Regions from separate parts of the Homo sapiens genome. Here all the other regions are linked to region 1. The links are contacts of gene promoters, found by promoter capture Hi-C in human tissues and cell types (Jung and others, 2019). All regions are on one chromosome and are shown on one strand. The core of a region is centred on a gene start or on the middle of the fragment in contact, and the rest is flanking DNA. Distances in the headings are between cores, read along the strand shown. Region 1 holds the start of CYP39A1 (cytochrome P450 family 39 subfamily A member 1). Region 2 has its middle 40 kb from the start of ENPP5. Region 3 has its middle 10 kb from the start of ADGRF1.

The links. The method cuts DNA at HindIII sites, captures the fragments that hold promoters and counts their contacts. A contact is called where the count stands out against the background at its distance.
Region 2: a fragment that was not itself captured here is called in contact with the fragment with the promoter of CYP39A1 in region 1 in 1 of the 25 tissues and cell types used here (dorsolateral prefrontal cortex).
Region 3: a contact is called between a fragment that was not itself captured here and the fragment with the promoter of CYP39A1 in region 1, in 1 of the 25 tissues and cell types used here (mesendoderm cells).

The regions. Positions count from the first base shown.
Region 1 is chr6:46,651,380-46,654,575 of GRCh38, reverse strand. It overlaps CYP39A1 (cytochrome P450 family 39 subfamily A member 1), which reads left to right and starts at 1,758. Exons shown (of 12, transcript NM_016593.5): 1 at 1,758-2,170. The coding sequence starts at 1,994. It overlaps SLC25A27 (solute carrier family 25 member 27), which reads right to left and starts at 1,601. Exons shown (of 9, transcript NM_004277.5): 1 at 1,278-1,601. The coding sequence starts at 1,383. RefSeq lists silencers at 1,164-1,263, 1,694-1,783 and enhancers at 1,444-1,573, 1,804-1,853. The HindIII fragment of the contact is 4,112 bases long and covers 1-3,196 here.
Region 2 is chr6:46,209,550-46,212,745 of GRCh38, reverse strand. No RefSeq gene overlaps it. Among named protein-coding and RNA genes, the nearest start is that of ENPP5, 40 kb to the right of the region's middle. The HindIII fragment of the contact is 3,629 bases long and covers 1-3,196 here.
Region 3 is chr6:47,050,818-47,054,013 of GRCh38, reverse strand. No RefSeq gene overlaps it. Among named protein-coding and RNA genes, the nearest start is that of ADGRF1, 10 kb to the right of the region's middle. The HindIII fragment of the contact is 5,628 bases long and covers 1-3,196 here.

The DNA of each region.
Region 1 (3,196 bases), core at 509-3,008:
CTCCACACACAATTCTCTCCATGAATTTTTAACGAGGAATAGTCCTGTATAAAAGCCATTGAGTCAGAGGGGGACACATCAATTAAAAATAAAACCTGGAAATATCATTCAGCAATCTGCTTTTAGATCTTTTTAAGCTGATGAATTTTATTTCAGTAAAAACAATGAAAAGTAAAAATTCTCCATCATTTTCGAAAGGAGAGACATTAAAAAATAGAGGGGCTAAAAGGCAAAAATGGAAGAGCACGAAACAACTGATCATGGCTGGCTATGCTAGAATTAAAAAATAAACTCTTAAAATAGGACCAACTAACATTTACAAATGATAACGCATCAGAACTGTTCTTTTTATTTTTTTGTAACAGGCAAGAAAATGTAAGGGTAATCTTAAAATACACAGTTAAGGCTTCACAGGAAACACATGAGTATACTACTCACAAAATCCTTGGAATAAACGCTACTTGCTCATTCAAGGGCATCATCATTCCACTCTAGATGGCCTCTTAAAGTTTTTTCTTACTCATGTAGGCAGATGTAACTGCTCTTCTATGCTTTTATGACACCTAATAATATCTTCATTATAACAAGTAGCACATTATAATTGTCTTTCTCTGTCTCCCCAGCAGCCTGTAAGAAGGTCAGAACTGGGTCTTTTCAAATATATATCCACAGTCCCTGGTATTGTAGGAATTATAAAAATGTCGCAACTAATGGGTGTCCTGCCTTGGGTTTAGCAATCATATATTATTGACTTCTCAGAATCCTGCAAGGTAAACAGTATAGATGAATTACACTCAAAGAGGTCAAGTAGTCGATGCTCTGTGAGTGGCAGGTTAATAACGGAAGTCCCACAAGGTAGGTCCACAACTTGGACCCACAAGATAATGACAGTGTGGCTGTGTAAGACTATAAACCACAGAGATGATCTCAGTAAGGATGGAAAACAGATTACGTTTTTAAAAAGGTCATCCTCATGAAAAGGAAAATGATTCCTACAGAGGAATGACAGCTCGCGAAGCTTCTTAAAGTACAACATTCAAGCACCACAGCACATGCCTAAGGGAAGCATTAGAAGAGATTAGAAGGAAAAGGCCGTGGAGACCTCAATCCCTCCTCCTCCCACCGCGGGCCTGGCCTCCACCGCCACCTCTGCCAGGCGGGCATGGAAGGGGCGACCTCTCCGATGCGCACTGCCGGGCGCGAAGCCGCCCGCGCACCCTCCCCCAGCGCGGCGCGTGCCACTGGCCCGGGAGGCCCAGGCGTGGGCAGCCGGGTACCTAGCTCGGCCACGGTAGCCGCGCAGCCGGACAGTAGGAATTTGCTCGCTCGGGGCCATCTCTGGGTCAGCGGCAAAAGCCTCTCCTCCTCCTCCGGGACGGACATTCAGCAGTAGCGCAAGACGATAACGCACTCCTTCTCGCCGCTGCGCTGCACCGCGCCGCGGCGGCCGCTTCCCTGCCAGGGCGGCCCCTTTTCAACCGGCGAGTGGCCGGGTGAGGACCATTTCCCTCGTTCGGCTCGGCCGGGTGGACCCGCAACCTTCCTAGCAGTCCCAGCTGGAGTGGTCCAGCTGCCCCTTACACCCCAGAATAGAAAAACACAGCGGAGCCCAGGAGGTTACTGGGCAATGTAGTCCGCCGGGCTCCGCTACGTCTCTGATTGGCCGGCCGCGGGTCCCTCTGCGGCTCCGCCCCCGGCCTCCATGGCAACGCGGCTGGTTCTCGCCCGTCAGTCCTAGCCCGGCCCTGCCCCTCCTTGCATTTTTTCCGCGCTGGCTGAGATTCAAAGAGAAGTGGAGGTGGGAGGGAGCGACAATGGAAAAATCACCTGAAAACTGGGACAGAGGAAGGAAGCTACAGTTACGAAGGAGAGCTGCAAAAGTTGCAGCAGAAAGGTTGGGAGTCCCGACAGGTTCCGTAGCCCACAGAAAAGAAGCAAGGGACGGCAGGACTGTTTCACACTTTTCTGCTTCTGGAAGGTGCTGGACAAAAACATGGAACTAATTTCCCCAACAGTGATTATAATCCTGGGTTGCCTTGCTCTGTTCTTACTCCTTCAGCGGAAGAATTTGCGTAGACCCCCGTGCATCAAGGGCTGGATTCCTTGGATTGGAGTTGGATTTGAGTTTGGGAAAGCCCCTCTAGAATTTATAGAGAAAGCAAGAATCAAGGTATGTGGTCGTGGCAGACGGGGTCTCCAGAGGAGACAATGCTTTCTTTTTTAAACTTTCTTTCATTGACTCTTAAGTGCAGGGCTAGAACACGGGGAACATACCTGCTTGCCTCAACTAAAGGATCTAGTCATTTCTGAATTCCTCTACTAACAATTAACAACAATATCCTGTGCAAAATTTTGCGAAAGAAATGAAATACAATTGCAGCGTGCATCGACATTTTTGGAAGTAGAGATTAACTTTTCGTATTTTTACTTCATCGAAGTTAAGTTCCAAATGTGTATGTGTTAAGTAAATGTTTTCAGTAATTGGGAAAGATAAAGTGTAATCCAATTTAAGTTTGTGAAAATGAGTAATTCGTATCCAAATTGGAGTTAACACCAAAGTATTGTACAAATTGCTTGCACAGTTGGTCCGTACACAATAAACAGGCTCTGTATTTTTAGCTGACGTTGTTATTTGATGATGATGTACTCCATTTTCACTACGGCCTGAAGAGACTAGTAATCCTCCTTGTAGTAGATGTTTTTGTCTTGAAAGTATCTTTTAAATGTCTGAGCACTTTAAGGAACAGACCTTTATTAATGTCTTTTAAGTTTTATTCAATTTCCAGTCACAAATATTTTATGGTATTTGATTGTCTAATAAATTTGTATGATATTATAATTATTCTTATGAATTATAATACTTTCTGTGGTGACCCATTTTCCATCTGGTTAGCCCAATTTGTAGAATGAATTTATACGTAGTAGCATTATTTTACCACTGATCATTTGCCTTCAAAATCTCTGAGATTCCAATTTAGTAAAAAACATATAGAAAATTAAAGAGAACTAAGATGAAAATAAAAATAACCCAGAATATCACACCAGCTGTACTGTAAAAATTTAGTGTATTTATATTATTTTGGTCATTTTCCTATGTATTTACAACTATTTAATGAACAACAATGGAATAATAGTATAATACTCTTTTATGTGCTTTTGATTTTAACATATAATGTGAATGACTTTCCTGTACCAT
Region 2 (3,196 bases), core at 284-2,783, 440 kb after region 1:
ACTGGGTATATACCCAAAGGACTATAAATCTTGCTGCTATAAAGACACATGCACATGTATGTTTATTGCGGCACTATTCACAATAGCAAAGACTTGGAACCAACCCAAATGTCCAACAATGATAGACTGGATTAAGAAAATGTGGCACATATACACCATGGAATACTATGTAGCCATAAAAAATGATGAGTTCATGTCCTTTGTAGGGACATGGATGAAATTGGAAATCATCATTCTCAGTAAACTCTCGCAAGAACAAAAAACCAAACACCGCATATTCTCACTCATAGGTGGGAATTGAACAATGAGATCACATGGACATAGGAAGGGGAACATCACACTCTGGGGACTGTGGTGGGGTGGGGGGAGGGGGGAGGGATAGCATTTGGAGATATACCTAATGCTAGATGACGAGTTAGTGGGTGTAGCGCACCAGCATGGTACATGTATACATATGTAACTAACTTGCACAATGTGCACATGTACCCTAAAACTTGAAGTATAATAAAAAAAAAAGAATAATTTGGGCTTTTAATAAGACAGTGGAATCCACTGGAATGGAAAAAAAAAAGAAAACATAATAGATACATATGTAAAGTCCTGTATTTATTTATTTATTTATTTATTTATTTATTTATTTATTTATTTATTTATTTACTGAGACAGGGCCTCACTCTGTCACCCAGGGTGGAGTCCAGTGGTGTGATCACAGCTCACTGAAGCCTCAACCTCCTAGGTTCAAGGGATTCTCCCACCTCAGCCCCTCCAAGGTAGCTGGCACTACAGGTGTGCACCACCACACCGGGCTAATTTTTTGTATTTTATTTGTAAAGATGGGGTCTTACTATGTTGCCCAGGCTAGACAACTCCTAGGCTCAAGTGATCCTCCTGCCTCAGCCTCTGAAAATGCTGGGATTACAGGTATGAGCCACCATGCCCAGTCACTGTTTGTTTTAAAAATGTAAATGCACAGGGAGAAAGAGAAGAGTTTGGAGAAGAGATAATAGAAGTTTGAGAGCCTTAGTTAATCAGCAACGCAGTATGTGTAAATACGGGGGAAGGGCAAAATCTGCTGTCTATGAGTTTCTGTTTAAAATGGTAGATGAAGGACATATATTTATTGCCCATCCAATCCCCAGAAATCTCCTGGAAATTACACAGAAGGTCATCAAAGGAAATATATATAATAGCCCTGCAACCCAATAAAGCATATCAACAGCTGTCTAGAAAATCTAAGTCACTTCTGGAATGCAGAAAGAAGTCTAACAGAGAAGCTAGAAATGACACAGCCTCAACAGATGACATGGAGAGATGAAGGCTACAGTGGATATGGGAGGATTCTTTCCAGCTGCGTCTAAGAGGCAATTCAAGCTTAGAGTCAATAAATATAAAAAGAAGTGGCAGGAAGTTAAAGATATGCATTAGAAAGAGTTGGAGCCAATTGAGCCCATCATCATCACTATTGCTGGCCCTATTTGCAGAATTGCCCCAAGGCCAAATTCCTAGGACTTGTCTTACCTGGTAAGGACTCCTAATGGGATTTGGGGAGCCCATCAGAGCCTCCGTAATCATACCTGACCTCCACTGAACACATGAATGAGAAAAAAAGTTTACTTCCTAGTTATGATGGAGCATATTTCCCAGTATCTTCACTGAAGAAGTGGAGCATGGAAGGTAAGTTTTACAAGATCTTGCATGTTTGAAAATGTCTTTATTGCACCTTCACACTCACATAATAGTTGGTTTGTGGAAATTTATTCAGGGTTTTGATGGCATCACTCCATTGCTTTCCAGCTTCTAGAAGGCCTATGTCATTCTAAATTCTGACCCTTTTACGTAAACTGTATTTTCTCCTGGAAGCTTTTAGGGCTGCTTTGTCTCAACTGCTCTGAGTTTCATGTATTTGATTTCTTATAAGTCCTTTCAACCTAGAAATTCATATCCTTCCATTGTGGACATTTTTCTTGAAGAGAGTGTATTAGTTCATTCGCGTGCTGCAAACAAAGACATACCCAACTGGGTAATTTATGAAGGAAAGAGGTTTAATGGACTCACCATTCAACATGGCTGGGAAGGCCCCACAATCATGGTGAAAGCCAAAGGAGAAGCAAAGGCACGTCTTACACAGCGGAACGCAAAAGAGAACTTGTGCAGGGAAACTCCCATTTATAAAACCATCAGATCTTTTGAGACTTATGTGCTACCATGAGAACAGTATGGGAGAAACCACCCCTATGATTCAATTATCTCCACTTCGCCCTGCCCTTCCCATGTGCTGTTTATTATGACTCAAGATGATATTTAGGTAGGGACACAGGAAACCATACCAAACAGCTTATTTGAAACTTTCCTCCCCTATATCTATCTCACTGTTCCCTCCTATTATTCGAAGGATATCTACTAGTTGGACCTTAAGTCTTCCAAAATTGTTCTCAAATTCCTGTTTTCTTTCTCTACAATTTTCTATCTCTTTGACTTTTTGGCTCTATTTTTCTGGGAAATTTCTGAAACATTATCTTTCAACACTTTTATTTATTTTTCTTTCTGTTGACATGTATTTAATTTCTGAGAGGATTTTTTTATTCCTGAATGTTTCTTTTCTATTACCTCCTGCTTTTTCTTTTTTTCTTTCTTTCTTTTTTGAGACAGGGTCTCACTCTTTCACCCAGCCTGGAGTCCAGTGGCATGATCACGGCTTACTGCAACCTCAACCTTCCCAGGCTCAGGTTATACTTCTGTCTCAGCCTCCCAAGTACCTGGGACTACAAGCATATGCCAACATCGTTGGCTAATTTTTGTATTTTTTGCAGAGATGGGGTTTCTCCATGTTGTCCAGGCTGGTCTCGAACTCCTATGTTCAAGTGATCTTCCTGTCTTGGCCTCCCAGAATGCTGGGATTACAGGCATGAGCCACTGTGCCTGGCACCACCTGCTCTTGTTTTATGAATACAATATCTTCTTTTATCACTCTGAAGATAATATTTTTGTTCATTTTTGTTCTTATTTCCTTTGCATTCTTTTTTCCTATTTCCTTTTTTCTTTCTTTATTTGTTTCTTTCTTCCTTTCTCATTCTTTCTCTTTCTCAGCTCTACCTCTCTCTTCCTGTTTGAACAGTGGTTCTTAATATGAAGAGATTTTAGTTCTGAGGGCAATGTCTGGAGATGTATTTTGTTGTCTGTCACAACTGGGAATTTG
Region 3 (3,196 bases), core at 320-2,819, 400 kb before region 1:
ATCTGAAATGCTGTGATGGACAACCCACGTCTTTTGAGAAGAACAATAGAAACCTGTGATCACTCGCCACCGCATATGCAGTCACCCAAAGAGCCGAACCCTTGAGCAGTTTTCTCTTTTACAAAAGCAGATGCACTAAAAGGACATTTCTTCATTTATTAAGAAAGTTTCAATATTTTTACATATACACACGAGGCTTACACATGAAGTCAAATGTACTTTCATGGAGTCAAGTTTATAAAAAATGCATAGAATGAATTAGAACTCTCTAAAAGTCTTTACACAATTTATACCTCCAATATTGGAAATGAGGTAAAGATGAAATACATAGCATAGCAAATCGTGAAAAATAATGCTGTCAATTTAAAATAGTTGGGAATCAAAAATTTAAAAAGAAAAAAGAAGAAAAACAAACTCAAAAGAAAATTTACCATATGAAAAAGCAATTAGAGGGATAGACTATGCATAATTGCACATAGGCTGTTCATAAGAGCTGGCCAGCTTTCACTATCATTAGCTCTATTTTGAAGTCTTGCATCCAGATGATTCTCCTTGGAGAATATGTTCACTTTCATTTTCTATATGGTGCTTGCTCTTTTTGAAATCATTCTGTGATTCAATATACAACAACATAAGCATTCCCTATTGTTTTCCCATCTTCTGTACCACACTTCTAGGTTGCTTTGCGCATGCAAAGTCCATTCCGCGTGCACTTATATACAGACTACAAATTTGGTGGGAACTATACTGTTGATCGAACCCCAACACTGTTGTATAAGTGTCTTCCTATCCTACCAGGCACATAATTATTTTTAAACTAGTCAGTAACTTTGCTGGCTTCTTCAGAGAAATGCGACTTTAATTCATTAAAAGCTCCTGGAATTTCACCAGCTGAAAGGAATGCCAGTGCAGACAAATAATGCATTATTTTTTTGAGATGAGTCTCGCTCTGTCGCCCAGGCTGGAGTGCAGTTGTGCAATCTCAGCTCACTGCAACCTCTGCCTCCTGGGTTCAAGTGATTCTCCTGCCTCAGCCTCCCGAGTAGCTGGGATTACAGGCCCATGCCACCACACCTAGCTAATTTTTGTATTTTTAGTAGAGATGGGGTTTCACCATGTTGGTCAGGCTGGTCTCAAACTCCTGACCTCAGGTGATCACCCACCTCGGCCTCCCAGAGTGCTGGGATTACAGGCGTGAGCCCCCGCACCCAGCCGAAATAATGCATTTTTAAAAGGAAGCTTTCATCATTGCCTTATCACATGGCCCATCCAGTCATCTGAATTGCCCTCCAAATGCAAATAAAGACAAAAACAAGGTAATAATAGTTCTGCCTGACATAATGCAACTAACATGATGCAACAACCCTGCTTACAGCTGAAAACTCATTCATACCTTCCCCAGAATTCAGGTTTCAGGGTTTCAACATTTGGGATTTATTGTGATTTTCAAGATTTTAGACTAGAGATTTTGATCCTTCGGTACTTCAACCCAAATTATGATTGAAATTACAGATTATCATGTTCAAAATTGCATCTTTCAGAATTATGATCAGCACTGCTTAATTATTTTATTTTATTTGATCATGTAGAAAATCAAGCCATATTCTTCTTTAGAGGAACTCAAAAGACATTAATTATCCCCAAATTTACCTATACACTTAACATAATCTCAATAAATATATCAATAGGTTTTTGTGGTGTGTGGGGAGGGGGAAAGTCAAGCTTATTCTAAAGTTTATATGAATAAATTAATAAGCAGAAATAGAAAAATTCTGAAAAGGAAGAATAATGAGGAATAATTAGTATATTAGATATAAAGATATATGATGAAGTCACAATAAACAGAGTATTAAGTTGTTCTTGAGCAGACACAGACGAATGAAATGAATACAAAATCCATGAATTGACCCAAAGTCACATAGGAATTTAGTATTTAATAAAGGTAGCATCTCAAATCAATGAGGCAAAGATATGTTATTCAGTCCATGGTGTGAAACAAATGAGTAGGTCAATGCAAAACAATGTTACTAGCACAAGTTAATTGCTACAGATTGTTTTTTTTTTTTTTTATTATACTTTAAGTTTTAGGGTACATGTGGACATTGCGCAGGTTAGTTACATATGTATACATGTGCCATGCTGGTGTGCTGCACCCACTAACTCGTCATCTAGCATTAGGTATATCTCCCAATGCTACCCCTCCCCCCTCCCCCCACCCCACCACAGTCCCCAGAGTGTGATATTCCCCTTCCTGTGACCATGTGATCTCATTGTTCAATTCCCACCTATGAGTGAGAATATGCGGTGTTCGGTTTTTTATTCTTGCGATAGTTTACTGAGAATGATGGTTTCCAATTTCATCCATGTCCCTACAAAGGACATGAACTCATCATTTTTTATGGCTGCATAGTATTCCATGGTGTATATGTGCCACATTTTCTTAATCCAGTCTATCATTGTTGGACATTTGGGTTGGTTCCAAGTCTTTGCTATTGTGAATAATGCCGCAATAAACATACGTGTGCATGTGTCTTTATAGCAGCATGATTTATAGTCCTTTGGGTATATACCCAGTAATGGGATGGCTGGGTCAAATGGTATTTCTAGTTCTAGATCCCTGAGGAATCGCCACACTGACTTCCACAATGGTTGAACTAGTTTACAGTCCCACCAACAGTGTAAAAGTGTTCCTATTTCTCCACATCCTCTCCAGCACCTGTTGTTTCCTGACTTTTTAATGATTGCCATTCTAACTGGTGTGAGATGGTATCTCATAGTGGTTTTGATTTTCATTTCTCTGATGGCCAGTGATGATGAGCATTTTTTCATGTATTTTTTGGCTGCATAAATGTCTTCTTTTGAGAAGTGTCTGTTCATGTCCTTCGCCCACTTTTTGATGGGGTTGTTTGTTTTTTTCTTGTAAATTTGTTTGAGTTCATTGTAGATTCTGGATATTAGCCCTTTGTCAGATGAGTAGGTTGCGAAAATTTTCTCCCATGTTGTAGGTTGCCTGTTCACTCTGATGGTAGTTTCTTTTGCTGTGCAGAAGCTGGAGGCATCACACTATCTGACTTCAAACTATACTACAAGGCTACAGTAACCAAAACAGCATGGTACTGGTACCAAAACAGAGATATAGATCAATGGAACAGAACAGAGCCCTCAGAAATAACGCCACATACCTACAACTATCTGA